5 separate regions of the Homo sapiens genome follow, and all the other regions are linked to region 1. Evidence: promoter capture Hi-C in 16 types of primary human blood cells and fetal thymus (Javierre and others, 2016). All regions are on one chromosome and are shown on one strand. Each heading gives the region's core, a stretch centred on a gene start or on the middle of the fragment in contact. The rest is flanking DNA. Distances are from core to core; before and after follow the strand shown.

Region 1 (4,509 bases), core at 1,326-3,825:
TTCCACTGTGGGGCCATGTAACAAGAAGGCCCTTGTTAGATGCCAGCACCCTGATCTTGGACTTTCTAGGCCCTAGAACCATGAGCAATAAATGTCTGCTCTTCATATAAATTACCCAGTCAGCGGTATTCCATTACAGCAGCACAAAATAGACTAAGACACCATGTCTATTTAGTCCCTATTCCATCACTGTGCGTGTGTGTCTGTGTGTGTGTGTGTGTGAGAGAGAGAGAGAGAGAGAAGAGAGATCGCGAGTGAGAGAGATCTGGGGAGAATACCTTATCTTTTTAGTTGTCTATAACAAGAGAAGCTTTATCCAGTTCCAATATGGAGACTACCAACCATCACCCAGAGATGCCAGACTTTGAGATTAATGCCTTTACTGAACAGAACTTTTGGATTGTCTCACTTTGTGATAGGAGTAAATCTATTTTGTAGTGTGAAGAAAGTGAACTGTAAACTGGTGACCAGAAGGATAGATCACAGTAATCCTTGATACTATTTACCAATAAATTCTGGTTATCTTCTTTTTGCACATATAATAGGATCGCACTTCCCTGCTCCCTTTAAGATAGATACGCCCGAATAATTCGCTTTGGTCAATGAAATGTGAGAACTGACTTGTATCACTTTTAGGAAGAACCAGTTCGCCATTCTTCATCTTCCTTTTGCCTATCACCCAAGGGGGGACGTTGCAGAGATTCCAGCCTCTTTAAGGATCCAGTTGCTTAGTGAGACCACATGGAATGAAGCCCCCTCCTCCTGCCACCCAGAGATGAACATGTAGATAATCAGGAAATAGTTTTTTGTTGTTGTTTTAAGCCACTAAGATTCTTGGATCATTTATTACTGCACCATAATTTTTCCCATCCTAACTAATGTAGATTACTATAAAAGTGATCAGGAAAACTGCAAAGGCTGATCATCGTGGCAATTGTGAGTGGAAGTGGTTAACTAAAACCATCCACTGACAATTCCAAAATCACCTTCACTAGTGATTTCACCTGCACTCCAATTGTGACCGTTCTAGAAAAGGTGATTATGCGTTCAAACTTTATTATTTTTAACTTATGAAGATGCAAAATTACATCTTCACTACTGAAGTCATAATGAGCAAAGAAATACTTTCTCATAGGAAGAAAAAGAAGGTGGATAAGGATAAGCCACAAAACAGGGAAGGTGGTACTGAATTCAGAGTTTATGAGATTTCCAAGAAGAATTAAACATATTTCCCACAGACTTGTGAATAAATTTCCAGAAATACACAGTACTTCTTAGCAAACGTTGGGTAGCTTAGCTTCGGCTTGATAAACTGCACTTATACGGAAACAAACGCACAATCGCTCTGGTGCAAAAGTAAAAACTGTGATTGGAGTCTGTATTTAAACGTAAGATTCCTCTCTAGCTCTCTCTGAAGAAGTTATTTTCTCTAGCACGTGGTAGAATTCATTCCATTAACCTTTGTAAAGTGCTTAATCCCGTGTCACGCACTGTACTAGGGTCTAGCGAGTGACAGATGTCACGGTACAGAGATCTCAGTGGGTCGCTGCCCTCCAGGAGCTTATAAAGAAAATTTTCCTTCTGCAGTTTTCAGCCGGCTACACCCAGTCCCCTGCAAGTAATTTTCAGTGAAAAAAACCCGCATCTTTTTCCTAGTCCTTGCAAATATTCTGGCTTTCCGAGATCTCTTCGCCTTGAATACCGAAGTCACTCCGGGATCTCTCTCTGGACGTTTGGCAGTTATTCCAGATGTAGCCGAATGACCGGCTTGCCCTTTCCCTGCGGAGTGACAGGAAGACAGCGACCCCGGAAAGTTTCCAGCACTTAAAACGCAAAGCGCAGCCTGAACCCACAAGGAGCCGACAACTCTTGCGGCTTCCACCACCCTTCTATCGCGGAGCCTAAGGAAGCTAAAGCAGTCGGGTCAGACCCGGCCACCGGGCAGCGCATGGTTCCGGGCGCAGGGAGCGACAGACTCAGCCCCCCAGCGGCGCGGCGCAGAGAAGTTGCAGGCCAGCCTGCATACCCAAGTGCGGGGGGGAAGAAAAACAAACAAACAAAAAAAATCCTTTCTTCTGGACTACAATGACCGGCAAGCAACGCGCCACGGCGCCAAGTTCAGCTTCGGGATCCTGGCGAAATGGAGCCTGGGAAGTGAAGTCTCCGGACTGTCGGAGTCCCGTAGTGAAGGCAGAAAGTAGGCGTTGCTAGTCCGCTCCACTAGCACGCCGGTTCCTGGCTGGGCTCCGGGTCTCTCGCTCCCGCTCAGGGTTTTCGCGGGCGGCGGGAGCGGTATGGCTCGCCTGAGTAAACTCCAGCGGGAGGGGGAGGAGGGTAGTGGGTGGGGAGGCGGGGTCAGCGGAAGCGGCAGGTTGCTTCCTTCTCCTCTGGCTCCCTCCCCGCCTCTCCCTGAGGGAGCGGTGGGAGGGGGAGGGCAGGGCAGAGGGAAGGTAGTGACACGTGTCAATCAACCCCCCTCCGGGGGGCGCGCGCTCCGGGGCTCGCGCCGAGGGCTCGCGCCCCTGCCTCGTGCCTGCGCTGCTCGTATGTAAATGAGGGCGCGTGACGCGGGACGCAGATGGACAAGGGAAGAGAGAGAATGGCCGCTGCCGCCGCCGCTGCTGCCGCCGCCGCCGCCGCCGCTCAGTGCCGGAGCCCTCGGTGCGCGGCGGAGAGAAGAGGATTCCGGCGGGAACTCGACTCTTGGCGCCACCGCCTCATGCACTGTGTAGGTAAGAGAGACGCGGGCCGGGGCCCCGGGCTCCGCGCGGCGACCGCTGTCGCAGCCCGAGGAGTTTGTGGCTGAGGGGTTTAGTTGAATCTCCCGTTCGGGTTAGTTCGGTGGGGGAGCGAGATGGGAGCGGCGCGGCGCGGCGGCCCCGGCGCTCGCCTTTTGTCTTGCGGGCTGCTGGCCCGGCGCGGTCCGCGCTCCTTCGCCTTCCCAGCTCTTGGGCTCCCCGGGAACTGTTAGTTTGGACCCGCTTGCTGAGCCCCCGCGGAAGCCGCCCGCTCGCTCTCTCCCCGAAACTCCTCGGCGCCCGTCGCTGCCCGCCGTCGCCCGCCGTCCACCCTGACAGGACGGAGGAAGCGGCCCGGTGGGTCGGCGCCCTGGCGGAGGAGAGCCGGCGGGCAGGGCGGCCGGAGGAAGGCGGGCTGGTCCGCGCCCCCGCCGAGCGCACACACACCCCCTTGTCGCCGCCGGGGGCCGGGTGAGCAGACGCGGCCAGTTCCCGGGGACCTGGACCTGGAGACCCACGGGCACTCGCAGGGCGGGGGCCGCTGATGGGCCGGCTGGGGGCGAGGGGCGGCGGGGGCGTCGTCCGAGGGGCGGGGGGCGCCCAACTCTGCCCTCTCGCGCTCGGCGGCGGCGCTGTGTGTACCCCTTTAAGAAGGAGCCGCTTGAGCGCTGACGGTTGGGATTTGAAGTTCTTCCTCCCTCTTTGGAAGTCTGGACGGATGGGGGGTGTTGCCACGGCAACGACACCCTCCCCCCCGTCTGCTTGCGGACGCCCCGACGACTCTGGTCCTCTTTCACTGTCATGTGATGGACTCTTCCTTACACACACACACACATATACACGCATACGCATCGCCCTCCCCACCTCCCATCCCCATTCAACTGCAATTCCCTCTTTTTGGTTGGATCTGAATCGTTTTGCCTCAAACTTCTGGGCTTGGGGCTCTCACCCTGTGGATTGTTTAGGGTGACAGGAATGGTGGGACTCCCGACCTTGCTGCAGTCGCTTTTTTTTTTTTCTTTTTTTGCCTAAGACGAATGCATAGAGCTGTTATCCAGCAGGTTGGTTTAGTGGGCTTAGAGGGGCGAACACGGATTATGGAATGGGGCGCGTTGTGGGTGTTTGTTTTGGAAGGGGGTTATGGGTGGGAGTGTAGGGGAAGAGGTAGAAAGGAAGGTTGTATTGTGTAAGCAGTGGATAGTGGCAGCAGCTTGCTCTACTGGCGAGTGAATCTTGGCATTTGGAGTTGGGGAGTAACCCTAGTGTCTTAAGAAAACAACTCTCTTACCTTGTTTCCATCTGCTCTGGCACCACCTCGCACCCCCGACCCCGCCTCCCATGTATTTGGTTAACGTCTTAAGATCTTTTTTTGACTAGTAGAGAAGAGATCGTATTAGGTTAAACTTAATACAATTTCAGTTCAGAAATGTGTACCGCAGAACGCGATGAATATAGGAAAATGTATGAGAAAGGAAGGTTACTTTAGGGGGCATTTAAGTGATGTTTAAGTAATTTACTGCTTTTGTTTTGCCCTTACGAAAAATGTATTTTGGTCTTCTCTAAGGAAAGATGATGAGAAATAGCTTTAGTCAAGTATTCGTAAGTGATTTTAGTTTATGAAGTGTAAAAAAAAACCTCTAGGTATTCTTTATATAAATTGTTTAAAAAACTAAATATTGTTGTTTGTGCTTCTTGAATACAAAATGGGCTGTTTTTGATAATTGCTTATGTAAAGATCTCTTCTGGAAACCAATTTAGAAATTACTGAGCT
Region 2 (4,265 bases), core at 1,576-4,075, 240 kb after region 1:
AACATAACTTAGTAAGTACAGGTAATGATATTCTTCGCTTGAATCAATGAAATTTCATAGGTTTTCGGTTATAACAGCTATTAAAGTCAGTGTTGAAATAAACTGAACTTAACACTAGACCTCTGAACTTAAAACTAGACCTCTGAATCACAGTATCTCAAAATGATAAATTCAATTATGTTGCTTTATTTTAAATGTTGCAATACTGTGTCATAATGTGTTATTAGTATACAATATTTCTAACATTTCATGAAATAACTCACTGCTACGGGAGCTCAAAGACAGCACCTCTGACTGGAGTAGTCAGTCCAGGGCTACCTCATGGGTGTGATTTGAACTGAGAATTGAAGGATTTTGGGATGTGGATAGCAGAGAGGACAAGAAGAACATCACAAAGCAATTAGAGGGAACTAGCAAGGGTTGGTTGGGCCATGAAGCAATTCTCTACATGGTGTCTGGTAGCATCTACAACAGCATCACTGAAGAGATTGTTTTAAATGCCTGACCCCAGACCGATGAATCAAAATTTCTGAGATGGGGAAGCAGAAATACTCATTTTTATCAAACTCCTTGTTTAGTAAATATAAACAAATTTTATGTTTACTAATATTTGAGAATTTCTAACCCCAGGTAAATACTCTGGATAATACTTGTCTGCAAAGACACTGTGGAGGACAACCACCACCAAAAACAGCAGGAGTCAATTCCAAAAAGAGAAATTGAGAAACAACTACAATGCAATATTCAACCATAGATCAGACATATTACCGATACTTTAGTCCATTAAAAAATTTGAGTTGCCACTTAGTACATAGCTCAAATGATCATATCAATATTTAACACAATCTGACTATGACTTTGCTATAAAACATTTTATTCCAAAATGTCATTCTCCATGGTGTCATGTCAATATACTGAAATCTCAGTACAAACGTCACCATTGTGTAAAAGAGGTTTTCATTTTACTCCCTGGGAGATGAGATGGAAGATTTGATACCATGCTACGTTTAATGAAACCCTGAATACTAGTTAATGTGTGTTAGGATTACAGTTAAAAAAAAAAAAACATGATGCTAATTTACACGTGTGTTCTTACATTCACTCAAAAAAGGGAAGATGTTTGACAGAAAACATCAGCTTTTAAAAATAAAATATGGTATAGGTGCTATACGGAAATGCAGAGCTACGAGAACATATCTTAAGGACATGCAGACTGATCTGCAACTACAGAGACAGCCTTCCTATGGAACTGACATTCAGGCTGAGATCTGAAAGATGAGTAGGAATGAGTCAGGCATAGTAGGGGAAAAAGCCTTCTAGATACTCAAGAATGTGAACTTGGTTTTAGATGAGTAATATATTAGGAGTAATAACAATAATCGAGTTACCTGTGCCACTTAACTGATTAGGAAAGAAAAATACTAATTAAAAGCTTTAGCCTAAGTAAATCTACCGAAGTAAATTTTTACCAAAGAAATCACCTAAGGCAACACTTAGATTATCAGCGTGGTAAAGATGAATTATTTAATACCTGTTGGGACAACCATTTAGCCATCTGGAAAAGCATAAGTCTGGAGTCTAACCTCATTCCATATATCAGCATAAATCCCAGGTAGATAAACCATATTTTAAATGAAGTCATGAAAGTACTAGGATAAACTATGGATTCCCTTTTCCTCATAATCTGGGGTAGAAAAGGCTTTTCTAAGCATGAGGAAAAAGCCAAAAAATGTGAGGGAAAAGATCAACAGATTTTCCTACATAAAAATTCAAAATGTTTATAGAGCATGAGAAAGCTAGAAAAAAAATCCGCTAACTGCGGGAAATGTTTGCAATATATATGATAGGCAAAGTGCTAAAAGCCCCTATTAAGGAAGAGCTCTTTGTAAGCAGCAAGAAAGCCAGGCAAAAACAATGACTAATCAAGTTGTGGGAAGGTATTCAGTTCTACCAGCAAACAAGTGGTGCGGGGGAATATTTCTGTGGGAACACTTGCACATCTGTGCAAAAACCCACTTACAACAATGTCATGTAGGCAGTTCCCTTGATGCAATAGTAACCTTAAAATACACGATTAGGCAGGCTGTCCCAGGTGTCATGGACAGGAAACCTCACACCGCAAATTAAGAGGCTCAAATCACATGGTTTATCGCTTTTAAACAAAATATAGTTGGAAAGATATAGTGACGTTTAACACATTTAGGATAGGGTCCAAGAGAGGTGGGAGGAAAAATTACCTGAATTTCATGTTACGCAGTGTTGTGGCGTCTTATCTGCTACATCAACCTTTACCTCTGATAATTAGGTTATGAGGACCGCAGCCAAAACTGAAAATGGGGGCTCAGCGGTGCTTACAGCCAGTGCACACTTGCTCTGTCAGAAACTCAGGGGCAAGGATACCTAGCTAATGGCCTGCTGAGAGCCGTGGGTTTTTTGTTTGTTTGTTTGTTTGTTTTTATTTTTAGAGACAGGATCTCACTCTATCACCCAGGCTAGAGTGCAGTGGCAGGATCATAGCTCACTGCAGCCTCGAACTCCCGGGCTCAAGCAATCCTCCCACATTAGCCTCCCAAAGTGCTGGGATTACAGACATGAGCCACTGCTCCCGACTGAAAGCCATGTTCTTAATCTGTGTTTCTGTGGCAGAACAGAAATAGGGCCAGAACTGGTGTCATTAATGAATGGCCATTTTAGGAATGAACTATCAGCCTGAAGGTGGCATCGTCTGTACATTGCAACTTGGCCTTTCCCACCTTATTCTGTCCGTTAGGAACACTCTTGTTTCTTCCATCCTTTTTACATATATTCCATTTATTCTCTGTCATGTCTTGCTCTACACTATCTATACTTAACATCTTAATACTGCCTATTTCACAGGCTACTTCTTTGCCCATTATACTTAACACATGAATTTCATATATTCTTTTTTTTCTCTATCCCTTAGGACAGAATTTAATATCCTCATAATACAGCAAGCATACATTACAAATATACGTTAAAGATTTTGGCTTGAAATATTTTAAAAATTGTCCAGTAGAAGATAGAGTAAATGGTATTGTATGTAATGGAAGACTGGTTGTTAGGAATGGGAAGCTAGATCTTCATTGACAAAAAGATATCCACTTTATATTACTGAGTAAGTAGGGTTCAAAAGCATTATTATAGGCGGGACATGGTGGCTTACCCCTGTAATCCTAGCATTTTGGGAGGCCAAGGTGGGCGGATCACTTGTCAGGAGTTCAAGACCAGCCTGGCCAATATGGTGAAACCCTGTCTCTACTAAAAATAGAAAAATTAGCCACGCATAGTGGCAGGCACCTGCAATCCCAGCTGAGGCAGGAGAATCCCTTGAACCCAGTAGGCAGAGGTTGTAGTGAGCCAAGATCGCACCACTGCACTCCAGCCTGGGCGATAGAGTGAGACTCATCAAAAACAAAACAAAACAAAAAAAATTATTGGTCGGGTGCAGTGGCTCATGCCTGTAATCCCAACACTTTGGGAGGCTGAAGCTGAGGTCAGGAGTTCGAGACCAGCCTGGCCAACATGGCGAAACCCCATCTCTACTAAAAATACAAAAATTAGCCAGGCATGGTGGCGCATGCCTGAAATCCCAGCTACTCAAGAGGCTGAATGAAGCAAGAGAATCTCTTGAACCCGGAAGGTGGAAGTTGCAGTGAGCCAAGATTGCGCCACTGCACTCCATCCTGGGCAACAGGAGCGAGACTTCGTCTCAAAAAAAAAATTATTATAGTATTTGTTTATAGTTTACACAGAAGTGTGTAAACATTCCTGAAATACATATATGTTTGTTACATTTTCTATATGTTTACACAGAAATGTCTAGAAGTATCTTCTCCAAAATATTAACAATAATTTTCTCTGAGTTTGGAATGTGGGGTTATTTTTGCTTGCTTCTACTCTTTTTTTGTTGTTGTTGTTTGTATTATTATGGGTGAGGATGTTTGGGGGGGATACTATGAGAAGTTTATAATCTAAAGAAAAGGCAAATCAATTATGATTTTAAATTTTTCTGACCAAGCACAGTGGCTCACACCTGTAATCCCAGCACTTTTGGGAGGCCGAGGTGGGAAGATCACTTGAAGCTAGGAGTTCAACACCAGCCTGGACATCATAGTGAGACCTTGTTTCTATTTTAAAAAATAAGAATTTTTAAAAGAAAAATATCATATTGCCAGCATTGTGCTCTGGGAAGCTTATATTTGTAATCTAAAGACAAATCAATTGGAAAGAATATCACCTTTGAG
Region 3 (4,340 bases), core at 523-3,022, 140 kb after region 1:
ATTTTATAACATTATTTTTCTAAAGTTGCATTATCGTAAATTATGTCTTTAGTCGTAGATATAAGCACAATTTATTATGTAGGCAATGATTTAACTATTGTATAGTTCAATAATTTAAAAGAGTAAAATTTTACACTATGAGTTCTAGAAAATACATGTTTATACGTACAGCCACAGTTTACCTTTTGCTAGTCCTAGTAAATGCTAATTATTCAATTCTCTTACTCATCATCACATTTTCTATTCTCTCCATTTTGTACAATTTACATCACTCCCACCTTCCCAAAGCATTATCTGGGCAGCTTTGAATGGAAAACAGTCATGAATGAGCAATCAATGGCTATTCACTACAAAATGGTGGAGAGGTGACTAAAAGTTTATCTTAGACAAATTTTATATCATATATTTAGTTAGTTTCTTCCTATCACCTGGCAATGCCAGCTCCTCCTCTGTTCTTTTTTTCCTATATAGTGCCTTCCCAGTCATATCCTGTTCCTAAACCCGTTTAAGATGAATAGGTAATGGCCACATATCAAATACTAGTGTTATGAATTAGATCAACAAAATATGAAATATTAAAATGTAAGGATTGCCTATCTGTTGCAAATATAAAGTTTTTTCTCTTGCAAAAATTATAGGGGATGGAGTGTTAGATCTCTCTACAAAGAAAACCAGCATAAAATCTGAAGAGTCATCCATATGTGATCCTTCTTCTGAAAATTCAGTGGCTGGGTAAGCAATATCTAGGAAATATAATTTAATATTAATATAAAATTATCTCTGCAGAGAACTCTTAATACTATTCTGAGTAGTATTGACGTATATAGTTTTCCTCCAGAATTTTTGTCACTCATAAGTGTCTCTCTCTCATACCTTTCATTTGTCCTTTCTCTTTCTTTTTTATTCTTTCTGTTAAAGAAAAGTTATCAGAACAATCACCAAACTTTAGTTCATGTTACTAAAATGAACTACCAACTTATAGAATACAAACTAAGAAGCAGGACGAGTAAGAGAATATTAAATTAAATACTCAGGACGCAATTTTAAGGGAAATATGTAATTTATTAATTTTTTAAAACAATGAACAAATTCCAAAAGCACTGTACTTACTAATTAATGCTAGTTTATAGTGTTTAGATTTTTTTATTGCACTTTAGATGTGGTGGCAAACTACTTAAATATATCTAGTAATCACCACAAAAAGTCCTCTCATGTTTTGAAAAGTGTCATTAATCATTAAATAAATAATTAGTAGTGAAATGCTGTTCTGTTGGATTTTTGGATTTTTTTTTACAACTTTTTTGCATCTTCCCATTAACTAACTGCATAGGAAGCTTTTTTGTCACATTTAAATCTTAGAGGTAGATTGTAATTTGTTTCAACTACGGCTGTAGTAGTATTTGAGTCGTAAGGTATAGTAAGCTTTCTGTTTGAGAAACTTTGAAAATTACAATGATAATTTGAAATAGTGACATTTATAATATCTAAAATTAAATTATTCAAATATAACATCTACTTGTTTCAAGTTTTAAGCTCTTGTCTAGAGAAAAATTAGTCTTGTGGAAATATGGGATGTTTGTGTTTGGAAATATTCCTGCTGCTACAAATTTCCTTTAAAGGGGTTGACTCTTTTATTACTTGTTTAGCGGTAACGTCACGTTTGTACTAACAAAAACTCCTTTAGGATTTGGGTACTTTTTATAATGGAGCTCTAATTGTATAAATAAAATTTATAAGTGTTGCTCTGCAAGCATCTATCAGAGGAATAGCAACATCATGAGAATATTTTTACAAATACTGAGTTAGGATTTTATGTTCTTGGAAGGTCTGCCCGTTGAGGCCACCGTATCATTGTCACATTGTCCTACCAGGACTGTAGCGTTTGCTTTGATAAGGAGTAACTACTACATCTCACAGACTTAAAAGTGTCATAAGCAGTGATGTTACCTAAGCAAGGAGTATAATAAAGGAGTGGACCCTCCCCTTCCATAGCTGTGTGAGAGTCTCTCATGCATCAGTTTACCATCGTTTCATTCCATCCATCCAGGAGACTACACAGAAACAGAGAGGACTATGTGGAAAGAAGTGCTGAGTTTGCAGATGGTTTGCTCTCAAAAGCTTTGAAAGACATTCAGTCTGGAGCACTGGACATAAATAAAGCAGGCATACTTTATGGCATACCTCAAAAAACTTTACTTCTTCACTTAGAAGCCTTACCAGCAGGGAAGCCTGCATCTTTTAAAAACAAAACTCGAGATTTCCATGATAGTTATTCATATAAGGACAGTAAAGAAACTTGTGCAGTGCTGCAAAAAGTAGCCTTGTGGGCAAGAGCTCAAGCAGAGCGCACAGAAAAAAGTAAACTCAATCTACTTGAAACCTCAGAAATAAAATTCCCAACAGCTTCCACTTACCTCCATCAGCTAACTCTACAGAAAATGGTCACTCAGTTTAAAGAAAAAAATGAAAGCCTCCAATATGAAACTTCAAATCCTACTGTACAGTTAAAAATTCCTCAGCTACGAGTAAGTTCTGTCTCAAAATCACAACCTGATGGTTCTGGTCTGTTGGATGTTATGTATCAAGTTTCCAAAACCTCTTCAGTCCTAGAAGGATCAGCTCTCCAAAAACTGAAAAATATACTCCCTAAACAGAACAAAATAGAATGTTCTGGGCCTGTAACTCACTCAAGTGTTGACTCTTACTTTCTACATGGGGACCTCTCTCCTTTGTGTCTTAATTCTAAAAATGGAACAGTTGATGGAACCTCTGAAAATACTGAAGATGGATTAGATCGAAAAGACAGTAAGCAGCCCAGGAAAAAACGTGGCCGCTATCGGCAATATGATCATGAAATAATGGAAGAAGCTATTGCAATGGTAATGAGCGGAAAAATGAGTGTTTCCAAAGCACAAGGAATTTATGGGGTACCTCACAGCACTTTAGAATACAAGGTAAAAGAAAGATCTGGAACACTGAAGACTCCTCCGAAGAAGAAACTACGATTACCAGACACTGGGTTATATAATATGACAGATTCAGGGACTGGCAGCTGCAAAAACAGCAGCAAGCCTGTGTAGATTACTTGTTAGGAAAATGTTTGTGAGTGTGTGTGTGTGTGTGTGTTTGCGTGTGTGTGTATGTGCACAGGTGTGTATTTGTGTGTCTATATACACACGTGGGAATTACAAATGCTCACTCTGACAGGAGACATGAAATTTTACAGTTCAAAAACCACTTACATGCCTTTTGAAAAAAAGTTTTATTCAGGGTTTTCACTGTGGACAGAATTATATAGTTGCTTACTTAATTCTGATAGTTTGTATTTAATCCTTGTATAAATAGGTGAAAAAGATTCAGGTTTTCTTTAGTAGTCAATAGCATAAAGCGTTGTGGGAAAACGAGTAATTGTCAAGTGAAACATTTTTATTGGTGAAAGACCATTCCAGCCATTCAGTTGAACCATCTTATAATGGAAATATGATATTCATAGTTTATAAACATTCTATACAACAGACTTAACACTTGTTGTATGTATGTCAAGCAACCAATCAAAGTTTAAATAGCTATCTCCATACTAAGAAAAATTAATATATACAGTATTAGTACACGACAGTGCATTCTATGAAATACAAAATGCACTCAAGTGCATCCACCAGGAATAGAAAAGAAAACCTTAAAGGATATGTATAATGAAATTTAATATTTATCATTTAATAGTTGATTTAGCAAGAAGTTGGGGTTTATAAGGTATATACTTTAAAAAAACTGACACATAGTTAACCCCAGCAGCTATAGAACCCTTTAATATAATAAGATGGAGTACTAAGAACAAAAAATAATTTAAATTTAATTATTAAAATAATTTAGTTTTGTTTTTCATTTGAAAAATAAGCTAATGTGTAAGGTTAGAAAAGAAAGTTGGAATGCAACTTAGAGCATGTTTATAATGTGCACAGAAAAAGCTTGAGAATGATAATTTTGGTTTAAATGTGCTGGTTAGTTGATGTTATGACTACTTTAAATTTTAAGGATTGTGACACACTCCTACTATTGAAAAACCTCAGTGTAACTTTAATATATTTGCTGCTGTGACATTTCAAAACATTTTCAGTTTATCAAAATGAATTGCAGATTTCATTTTGGTGGGCGATACATTATCATTTTGCTAATAACCAAATTTGCAGTTTGTTCAGGGTCTTGAATAGATTTACAAATATTTAACACTGAAGCTGTTTTGAACTTTCAGTAATGTAAACTCTCTACTAATTGGGTAGTTAGAAGCTGGGCAGTGCATTTTAACTTTTACTAGACTCATAAGAGAGACTGGTCATTTTTAC
Region 4 (4,562 bases), core at 1,499-3,998, 150 kb after region 1:
TATGAGATTTTGAAATATTACTGTTGATGAAAAGTTTTGCTTCTATCACAAATATCTTGTTTGGTACATTTTGAGATGAACTGTCCAGATATAATTTATGAGTTTTTAAATTTATACTTCACCACATTTGTACTGCTGTATATATCAAGTGTGCACATGGAAAGGAGGCAGAAAAATGCAATCCCATTCTATTCTTACTTCAACAAGTATTTAATGAATGTCTACAATATGCTCTTAAGCACTGTGGAAGGTTCAAATAGTTCCTTTCCATCTAAGGGAGAAAACAAGAGCTACATCATTTATTCAGTAAATAGAATGTATTTCATTTTTTAAGTGGGATATTATATGCCTTAAGGGGATAGAATGGTTAAAGTCATGGTTGTTGCTCTTATGGTTGTTGCTCTTATATGTTCCTCCATGTCATGAAGGATAGAAAAATGGATAGCCAATTCCAGTAGAAGGATGATGACTGCTATGATCAGAGAGAGAGCGATGGATTGTAAGAGCACATTAAAGAGGAATTGAACTCAGATTTAGGGAATTAGGCAAGGTTTCCTACATTGTTGCATCTAAGCTGAGGCTTGAAGGAGGCTGATGTAGTAGAAGTTGGAAGAGGAGTGTTTTCAGGCAGTTGCAAACGATGTGGAAAATTTGGATGACAAAAGAGAGCAAGCAGCCTGGGCAACATAGCGGGACCCCATCTCTGCAAAACAAACAAACAAAATTAGCCAAGTGTGGTAGCCCACACCTTGCTTGAACCTGGGAGGTCGAGGCTTCAGTGAGCCATGATTGTGCCACTGTGCTCCAACCTAGGTATCTCAAAAATTTTTTTTAAAAAAGAGCAAGCATATGTGGAATATTGAGTAATTTATCAGAACTGAGGCATAAAATAGGAATCATGGATCAGGAGGGAGTGGGAAAATGGTAAAACAATGAAGCTACTGAGGGAAGCATAGCCCATATTGTGAGGTCAGCATCAAATAATGAAACAAAAAATGTTTTAAGCCCTAATAGTAGCAGTAATTGAAAAGAATAGATTTGAGATCTATAAAGTAAAATCAATGTCTTAAAGATTAGAAGAAAAAAGGGAGAACATCCAGGTTTTTGCCTTGAACATCTGGGTAGAGGATAGTAAGATCTACTAAGATAGAATGCTCTTTAGATGTGAGAAATTTGAGGTGTTCAGTGGGATATCCAAGAAAGGATGTTAGGAAGCAGTTATGGATATGCTTCCTAAACATACGGATCTGTTTCCCAAGAAAAAGGCCTGAGCTGAAATAAGGATTTGTGAATCAACAAATAACTGAAACCATGAGAGTGGAAGAGATTACAATGAGATTACTCATTGTAAGATTGAAAGAGCCTAGGGAGTCGGAGCCTCAAAGATTTAGGAAAAAGGAAGGATGTATACAAAAGGAGACAGATGACAGTAGTTGAGAGGTAAGAGGAAAGCCTGGAGAATGTGGTGAATGGAAATGTGTTGTAAGAAGGGAGAAGGCAATGTAAACTGTTGATAAGAAGTCAACTAAGATGAGCCCTGAAACGGTTCCATTGAATATAGCAACAAGAGTTTATCTTAGTTGTTGGGAAAGAGTAGCTTTGGTGGACTAACAGAGCCACAAGTCATATTCAAGGCTAGATGAGTTAAATGAAGGAAGAGAAAGAAAATTAGCACAGAAAACTATAATTGACCATGAATGGAGAGAATATACAAAGGTTAGCTAGATTAAGCTGGGGTTGAAGACAGGTTTAAAAGATATATATTTACATGCTAATGGAAAAAAGCCAATAGGGAATAAACAATTGAAGATAAAGAAATGAGATGGCAACCAATGGAAATGGAGTGAAGCCCCTGTGTAGATTATTGGGTATAGGATCTAGGACATGGTTAGAGAGATTGGTCTTAGCCAAAAGGGTCACTTTTCTCTAAAAAAAAAAAAAAAAAAAGGTAGTGGGAACAATATGTGGGAAGGCAAATCGGTAATTTGTGGGCAGAATCCTGAGATATTAGAGTCCATTTTCTGTGAATCAAGAGGTAATCAAGAGTAGTATGTGGGATTGGGTAATTGGGGAATATGGACAAGGTTTGAAATAGCTGTCTCAAGAAATATAGGATAGAACAACTGGTTTTATCTCAGCTGCCAGAATGTAAGCCTGGAGAAAGGTGGGCCCTTAGATTTAGTAATAGTCAAGTTCACCACGTGGGGATGACAGGACAAAGAGATCGAGCCAAGAATATATCTGTTCTGTGAATAGTGAGAAGCTATATGATCAAAGCAGAGTTCTAGAGAATCTTTTCTAATAGTAGCACAAATATAGATCCAGGGGGTGGAGGATGGGAAATGTGATGTGTGAAAGGTCAGTTGCAGGAGATGATTTTTGAGATGGTAATGGCCTAAAAATGGAGTGCGACTGTTGGAAATAATATAGACCTTTTTAATGTCAGTATCTTTTGAGTTCCCAAAGCAGGTGTATATCTTTTCCTAATTGATAAACATCTCGATATAAATAAGCTGACTCTGGACACCTCTGAGTAAACTTTTAAGAATCAAATAACCTAATGTGGTCTTGAAGCTCCTGTAATAATAGTAGCCATCCTAAAACATTAAATTTTCCCATAAAAATTTTGAATTCAGTTGACACTTTGAATCGAATTCTGAGATGACTGAAAAAAAAAAGTTTGTCAGCTTCTTCTATTTTGCCATCTGTCGTCAAAAATAACTGAATTTACATTTTTCCCATTCAGAATTCTGGTTTTCACACAGGTTTGTAACTGATGGCTGATTTTTAACTAAGTAATATACTCCTTCAACTACCAGAAACCAAGACTAACCATACATACTCCTCTGATCTTGCTTATGAGCATTTTAACACATATTTTGAACACTGAACACAAGATAAAAGGAAATGATTACTTTAAGTACAACTGTTAAGATTTGATTCTGTTAAAGTATTCTAATGAAATTAGGAATTTTTTTACACCCAACCCCCCTGAGGAATTTTTAATAAAGATACATTCTGTTTATATTTGAGTTTTTCCCCTGTAATTTTCTTAGGAATTAAGAGAAGAGTTTAGGTTTTAAAGAGTCTCTAACTTTTGCCATAATATTTTGTGAAAATGTAAAACAGGTAAACAATCTTTGTCTTGATGTTTTTTCTTAGAATTTTTCTTGAATATTTTATATTCCATTGCTTTCTCAACTATTACTGAGTTTTCAGGATATTCTGTTTTACTAATTGCCCCATATCTTTCTCAGAAAATCATTCAGTTTATTTAACAAACATTGGATACTTTTTCTTTTGATGTATCAGGTGTTGTGTTAGATGTTCAAGTCACAAAGGAACTCAAGGAATTTATCTAGAAGATATTTCAAGTTTTTACTTTGGCAACATAATTAGTAAAAGAAACATAATTTGGCTGATTCCACATACTGGTGGTTGTAGAGAACAGAACTATTTTCAGACATAGATTTAATTCTCTAAATTGGGAAGTCTGGCCCATGGCCTATTTTGTAAATAAAGTTTTATTGGAACACTGCCATGTTCATTCACTCGTATATTGCCTATTGCTATTTTTGTGCTGCAGAAGCTGAATAGTTGCAACAAGACACCATAAAGCCTACAGAGTCTAAAATATTTACTACCTGGCACTTTGCAGAAAAGTTTGCCGACTCTGTTCGTATCACTACAATTTTGATATGGTGTGGCTTGAAAAAAATAAAAAATAAGTTGTTGGCTTTTAAAAAATATATTAAGGTCATCCTATCTTGTTCGTCCCCAACACCCCATCCACTTCTTCCTCAACACTCGCTCCCTCAACACAATACAATGTATTTGACATGTTAGCTGTTCTGTTTTGTTTGATCTTTACGGGTCAATATCTGTCTTTATCCAGCAGAGTGGTGCTGGGGGAGCCATGAACACCAGTTGTATTCTGTTTTGTAAATCTTTATTCTCTCCCTGCAGCCTCCAGACCTGCTTTCTCTATCTGAGGTAAGTTCAAGGGTCACCCTTTTCTTCTTTAACCAGCTGCTACCACCTGCTAGAAGGAGATTGGTTTCAATGCCTCACACCATGATAAATTCCTGCCTCAAGGTCTAAATGTTCTCTTTCTCCTTTTTTCTTCCTTCTTTATTTCTTAAGAATTCAAAATTCTTAGTTCAGCTCTCCTAACTACCATTTTTTCTTCTCGTTTTTCCTGGGCAGTAACAGTTTTCTTGTCATGGAGCTGAGCATTCTGTGATTATCGTAACGTTAAGCCTAGTGAATTCACCTATAGTTTAATTACAAACAAAAAAGGCAAGGGTAGGTGTCTGAATGATTTCATCTTGCCACTTTTTTTTTTCTTGTTTGTGTTTGTTTTATTTAAACCAGACCTTGGCTTCTTTTTCCTTCTCCCAGTTCCAGGCAACCTGGAAAATGCATTTATTTGCTACTTTTTTTCTGTGTTATGCAAACATAGAAAGCTAGATTTTAAAAGCCTGTACCTATAAACTCTTTTTATTTATTCAAAAGTGTTTGTCTTCTGCGTGCTAGGCAGTATGTTAGACACATGCAAAATA
Region 5 (4,743 bases), core at 1,410-3,909, 180 kb after region 1:
TAAAACCAGTTTATTTATAAATAAAACTTTTTTGTTTCTGACTCACATTCTATCAGTGTTTAATTGATAGCCTGATTCCATTGACTTAGCTTAAAACTAAAATCTCAATGTCAAAAAAACACTGACTTGGCTATCTAGCAAAGTGAATCAGGGAAAATCTAGCTAATGATTTTATATACTATAACAGAACCTGGTGTTATACAGGAAAAAAAGCCACAAACTTGTAATGAAGCTTGTAATTAAACGAGGACCATAACTGTCCAAAAGAGATTTCTTTGAAACTCAAGAAGTGACAAAAAAATTAAGTTCTCTCTCTTGATTTAAGCAATAAATTCCAAAAACATAGTAAAAAACAAGTTTCCCCCCAAAAAAGACAAATTTAATCAACAGTGTAAAACTATGTACTGAAAATACACACAATACAATTTTGCAAATGAATACAAGACAGCTACCAACTTTCAGCTCTAACAGTGGCTTGACTGACAGAAGCCAAAAATAAAACACTCTACCACACAATATACCCAAATTATAGACAGAATTATTCTATCAGTATGTAAGTGTAGAGAACCCAAATATTATCAAAATCAAGAGTTTGCTAACTGAAGATCAAAGAGGAGTCACATCATGTAATTAAAAATTGAAACAACATATTAAAGATAGTACTAAAGACCATGCCAGCTAATAGGCAAAAGCAAACACGCCGTAAGAAGTCAAATGCTCTTGATGATGGAATTTTAGACTATATACCTAAGACAGCTATTTATAGTTTTCACTATCTTGTTATATATTCTCTCTCATTCGCAAGAAAATTAGTTTTTTTCTACTTGTAGAAATAAAAAGTGAAGATAGGCCTCCATATATTCTAGACATGCATGACATACCTTTCAGAGTCGGCTTCAGCAGTCTGACACCTCCTGTTCGTCCTAGCTGAAACTGTCACTTTTCTCTGTCCTTGAAGATAGTATAATTCATTATCAGGATTTATTATCAGTTGCTTTTTGTTTTTAATCTAGTTTCTAGGCTAACTAAATCCTTTGTCTTCAACACAACAATCCTTTCAACACATGTATCTCCTACTTGTTCTAGCCATCTTGGTACCAGTTATCACTGCCACAGAAAAAGGAACCCAAGCAAGATTAAAACTTAATTTATTTTGTAAGCACTAATAATGAGTAAGGGAAAATAAGGAAATTTCAAGCAAGTTAAAAGAAGGCAAATTTTAGTTCAATGTATTTGAGGACAGTATATGAAAAATGTGTTATAATGAAGTACCTCTATTATTGCTATAGCACAAAGTCTGTGGAGACTCATGAAAATTAAGGGTTAGAAAGGTAGGTTAGGTGCATAAACAGGTGCTAAAGAAACAACTTTTTTTTTTCTTGGAAGGTGATAAAACATAGTAAGGTAATAATGGCTTCTTGTAAAATAACATACATGACCAATTCAAATGTGTTCTAAAATATATTTCAATGTAAAAACTAGAACCTTTATATACTGGGGATTATAAGATTCTACTTACTAGAAATTTACAAGGTTAAGGAGTAAGACAAAGTTTGGCTTGTGATGTTTCTCATTTATAAGGAATAAAACAATATGAATATATGAAGTTTGGTCTATTAAAAAGGATGGTGTTCTCATGGTGTGATATACCACAAAAAAAATCTGATCAAAACCAAACTGTTCAATGTGACAGTCTGAAAATTATATACTCTACTTCATTCATGTTACACTTTTTTCTACTCCTTACCTGCTTTTACTAATGCATTTATCCCCAAGAAAACATCCAACAATATGGGACTAATTTGGAACAATATCCAGCAATTGGTATTTAAATAATTTACTGGTTACAAAACAATATTATGACCAGACTCCATTTTAGAAAAAATTAAATCTGCATCGAAAAGGGCCTTAAAAAATAGATTTCTAAAATCAAAATCATGGTTGGCTCATGGGTGGGATTATTAGTGTTCCTTATAGTAGTTTGTCTGGATGTACTTTCTGATTCTTCTGTAATAAGCATGCATTGCTTTTGTAATGAGGAAATAATAAAACAATAAAAAGATCTTGAATTTCAGATTTTTTTCCAAGTGACCCCCTAATAGTCAGCATTTACTTTGCCAACAGATCCCCTATTGTTGGATAGCCCTTGGGAAATAAGTTGGGAAAATATGAAATAAGATGGGAATAGAAGGAAAACAAAGCCCAGAAAAATACTACAGGGATTTTTTAAAAATGCTTAGTTACAGGAAGGATAGAACACAAATAACTAATATAAAACCATCATTTAACCAAATCTTAATTTAACCCAAATTGTCTTTTGTAATATCTTTTGCATCATACTTCTTTCAATCTAAAGCACCAAGAGCAACACTGATTTTATAATCTTTAGACACAAGGCAAAAACTGACATCCACAGAAAGAATTAAAAAGAAAGGATACCAAAGACATTTTAAAAAAAATCTTTATCCCTAAGGAAACAAAGATAAGAAAACTTGCAAAACAAGTATTTTTCATTGGAAGATAAAATTTAAAACTTTTATCATAAAGATGGTCAATCCACACACTACCTCTGTTAGTCTTTAGCTGAGTAGACTTTGATGCTTGGGTTGCTTTTACACCCCTGAGTGGAGTCATATATACTTCTTTATTCTTTTCTATTAAAGGGAATAATACAACAATATAAATAAGATAACCTCATGAAATATTTTAAATTGTCTTTTTAAGACCAGTTTTTATAAAACTGAAATGACAAAGTCCTTCTAGCAGCTAGTGAAAAGTTATAAATCACCCTTTCGAAAATTTGAATATTGGAAAAAGAAGCAAAACTCTTAAAAAGATGGTCATATGTTGAGAAATGCATGCCAAAAAACACTTGAAAAGCAGAATAAACATTTATCAGTAATGCTCTTTCCCAAGAGGATTAATTAGAAAAAAAATTTCATTCATTTCTGATGTCCAACCAAACATGTTAGAGTAGAAAAAAATATGTCTCAGTAAAGATGGAAAAAAAAAAACAGAACCTTATAAATATTCTGTTCAGTATGTGATTACCATCTTCATTTTGGAAAGTAGTTGTAGTCAAGGTGGCATCCTGTGCTGCTTCAGCTTGGTCACCAAATTCTTTATTTCCTTTTTCTAACTGAATCTTGATTTTCTCCAAAGCTCTCAGACATGTCCTATCTTTTACTTGCTATAAAAGAAAACATTATTAACATTTTGTAAACACCGCATTCCCTAATCTTTGAAAATAGTACCAATACATATCAAGTTGTTTAAAAACACTAAATTATATGAAATTTATGAAGAAAATACTTCAAATAAGTCACAATATGCTAACATATGTATAATCTAATACAACCATGTAAATTCTACATGTATAAATATAAACACAAACTAATTTAGAGTAATGAGAAACTACTTTACCTCCAGAATCTCATTCAATAGAACCAGAAGATCTTTTGCAAGATGGCTACTGAGTTCTAAAGAACTCAAGGCTTTTGTATAGACTCGAATTTCTGGCGAGCACGGACTTGTTAAGATCTCATTGCAAATTTTCATAGCCAAATTGTCATGTACTGTTAAGGCCTAAAAAATTAAGAGAAAATTCTCTGTAAATTGAAGATGATTATGATTATTATATAGTCTTACACATCTAACAAATATTTCCAACTAATTTTCTTGCCATAATCCCAAATATAAAATGTCTAAAACCAAATTTAACATCCTCCCTACCCCCAAAATAAGCTCCCCTTCTTGACTTCTTGTTGTGGATGTTGTGATATAGGGCCCAGTTCCACTCCCTTTAGGAAAGATGCACTCATCCCCCAGTTGCTGCATGTTTTGGAGGGTAAAAGTTCCCAGCTGCAGTACTGATCCAGGCTGACAATGGTGGACTTTGGTGGACCTTGTCCAAGATCATACCTCTTCTCCCAAAGATTTGTCCAAATCCAATGACTGGCCCGTGCACAAGTACAGTGTTTCAGCTTGTCTCCATTCTGGACAACTCAAAGGAACATCCCAGTTCCGGAACTCCCTATGGGATTGGCTGGGGCCTTTGTTTGCATAGCAGTAGTTGAACTTAGGGCTATGCCCCAATCTACTTTTCCCTTACTCTTCCAAGACACTGATCATGAGAGTACTCCCCAATTAAACTATGTCAACAGCTCCTTTGAAGTCTGCTGTTACACATACTTAGAGTTTTCCTGGACTCCTCCATCTCCCTTGCCTCTCAAGCTCTTTCTTTTAGATTCTTGTACCCATAATTCTTTATTAGGTCAATTTCTATTCTTTCTACTATTACTTTCTAGTACTTTTTCTACAAGCGAATTATACAGATTTTCAGCTGCTTTCTTTATTAATATTCTTTTCTTTCTGCTCACCAATTCATCTCATATAACCACCACTGACCACCAAATTAATCTTTCCAATAAGTGGTTTTCATGACATTAACCCTTTCATCATAAGCCCTGCATAATTATCCATTGCACATAAGGCCAACTCCAAATTCCCTACATTGGCCTTTAAAGCAATCTATAATCTACCCCCAGTGTTGTGCCCTAACAGTCCTATTCAGGATCCTTAGCCAAAGTCATCTTTCTACAGTTCCCCAATATTTGCATAACCATCTACATATATCACCTTTACTAAAACATCCTTCCTCTACCCAAACCACTCCCCAAATACCAACAAGGCCTAACTGAATTTTGGTCAATGAGTTTTAAAACTAATGCTGTACTCATCATT

Evidence for each region. The method cuts DNA at HindIII sites, captures the fragments that hold promoters and counts their contacts. A CHiCAGO score of 5 or more calls a contact.
Region 2: a contact is called between a fragment that was not itself captured here and the fragment with the promoter of LCORL in region 1, in 5 of 17 cell types (monocytes, total CD8 T cells, naive CD8 T cells and 2 more). The highest score is 7.9, in monocytes.
Region 3: a contact is called between a fragment that was not itself captured here and the fragment with the promoter of LCORL in region 1, in 1 of 17 cell types (monocytes). The highest score is 5.7, in monocytes.
Region 4: a contact is called between a fragment that was not itself captured here and the fragment with the promoter of LCORL in region 1, in 1 of 17 cell types (monocytes). The highest score is 6.0, in monocytes.
Region 5: a fragment that was not itself captured here is called in contact with the fragment with the promoter of LCORL in region 1 in 4 of 17 cell types (monocytes, erythroblasts, megakaryocytes and 1 more); the score reaches 7.7 in monocytes.

What each region holds. Positions count from the first base shown.
Region 1 is chr4:18,019,821-18,024,329 of GRCh38, reverse strand. LCORL (ligand dependent nuclear receptor corepressor like) reads left to right here and starts at 2,575. Exons shown (of 8, transcript NM_001394446.1): 1 at 2,575-2,732. The coding sequence starts at 2,579. RefSeq lists an enhancer at 1,944-2,203 and silencers at 2,254-2,713, 3,034-3,363. The HindIII fragment of the contact is 12,000 bases long and covers 313-4,509 here.
Region 2 is chr4:17,784,522-17,788,786 of GRCh38, reverse strand. No RefSeq gene overlaps it. Among named protein-coding and RNA genes, the nearest start is that of FAM184B, 5.0 kb to the right of the region's middle. The HindIII fragment of the contact is 2,781 bases long and covers 1,435-4,215 here.
Region 3 is chr4:17,882,460-17,886,799 of GRCh38, reverse strand. LCORL (ligand dependent nuclear receptor corepressor like) reads left to right here. Exons shown (of 8, transcript NM_001394446.1): 6 at 639-732. Among named protein-coding and RNA genes, the nearest start is that of NCAPG, 74 kb to the right of the region's middle. The HindIII fragment of the contact is 696 bases long and covers 1,425-2,120 here.
Region 4 is chr4:17,866,430-17,870,991 of GRCh38, reverse strand. All of the region lies in intron 7 of LCORL (ligand dependent nuclear receptor corepressor like), which reads left to right. Among named protein-coding and RNA genes, the nearest start is that of NCAPG, 58 kb to the right of the region's middle. The HindIII fragment of the contact is 6,517 bases long and covers 1-4,562 here.
Region 5 is chr4:17,838,518-17,843,260 of GRCh38, reverse strand. NCAPG (non-SMC condensin I complex subunit G) reads right to left here. Exons shown (of 21, transcript NM_022346.5): 17 at 3,424-3,585; 18 at 3,052-3,190; 19 at 2,568-2,654; 20 at 882-951. LCORL (ligand dependent nuclear receptor corepressor like) reads left to right here. Exons shown (of 8, transcript NM_001394446.1): 8 at 1-2,074. Among named protein-coding and RNA genes, the nearest start is that of NCAPG, 30 kb to the right of the region's middle. The HindIII fragment of the contact is 4,850 bases long and covers 235-4,743 here.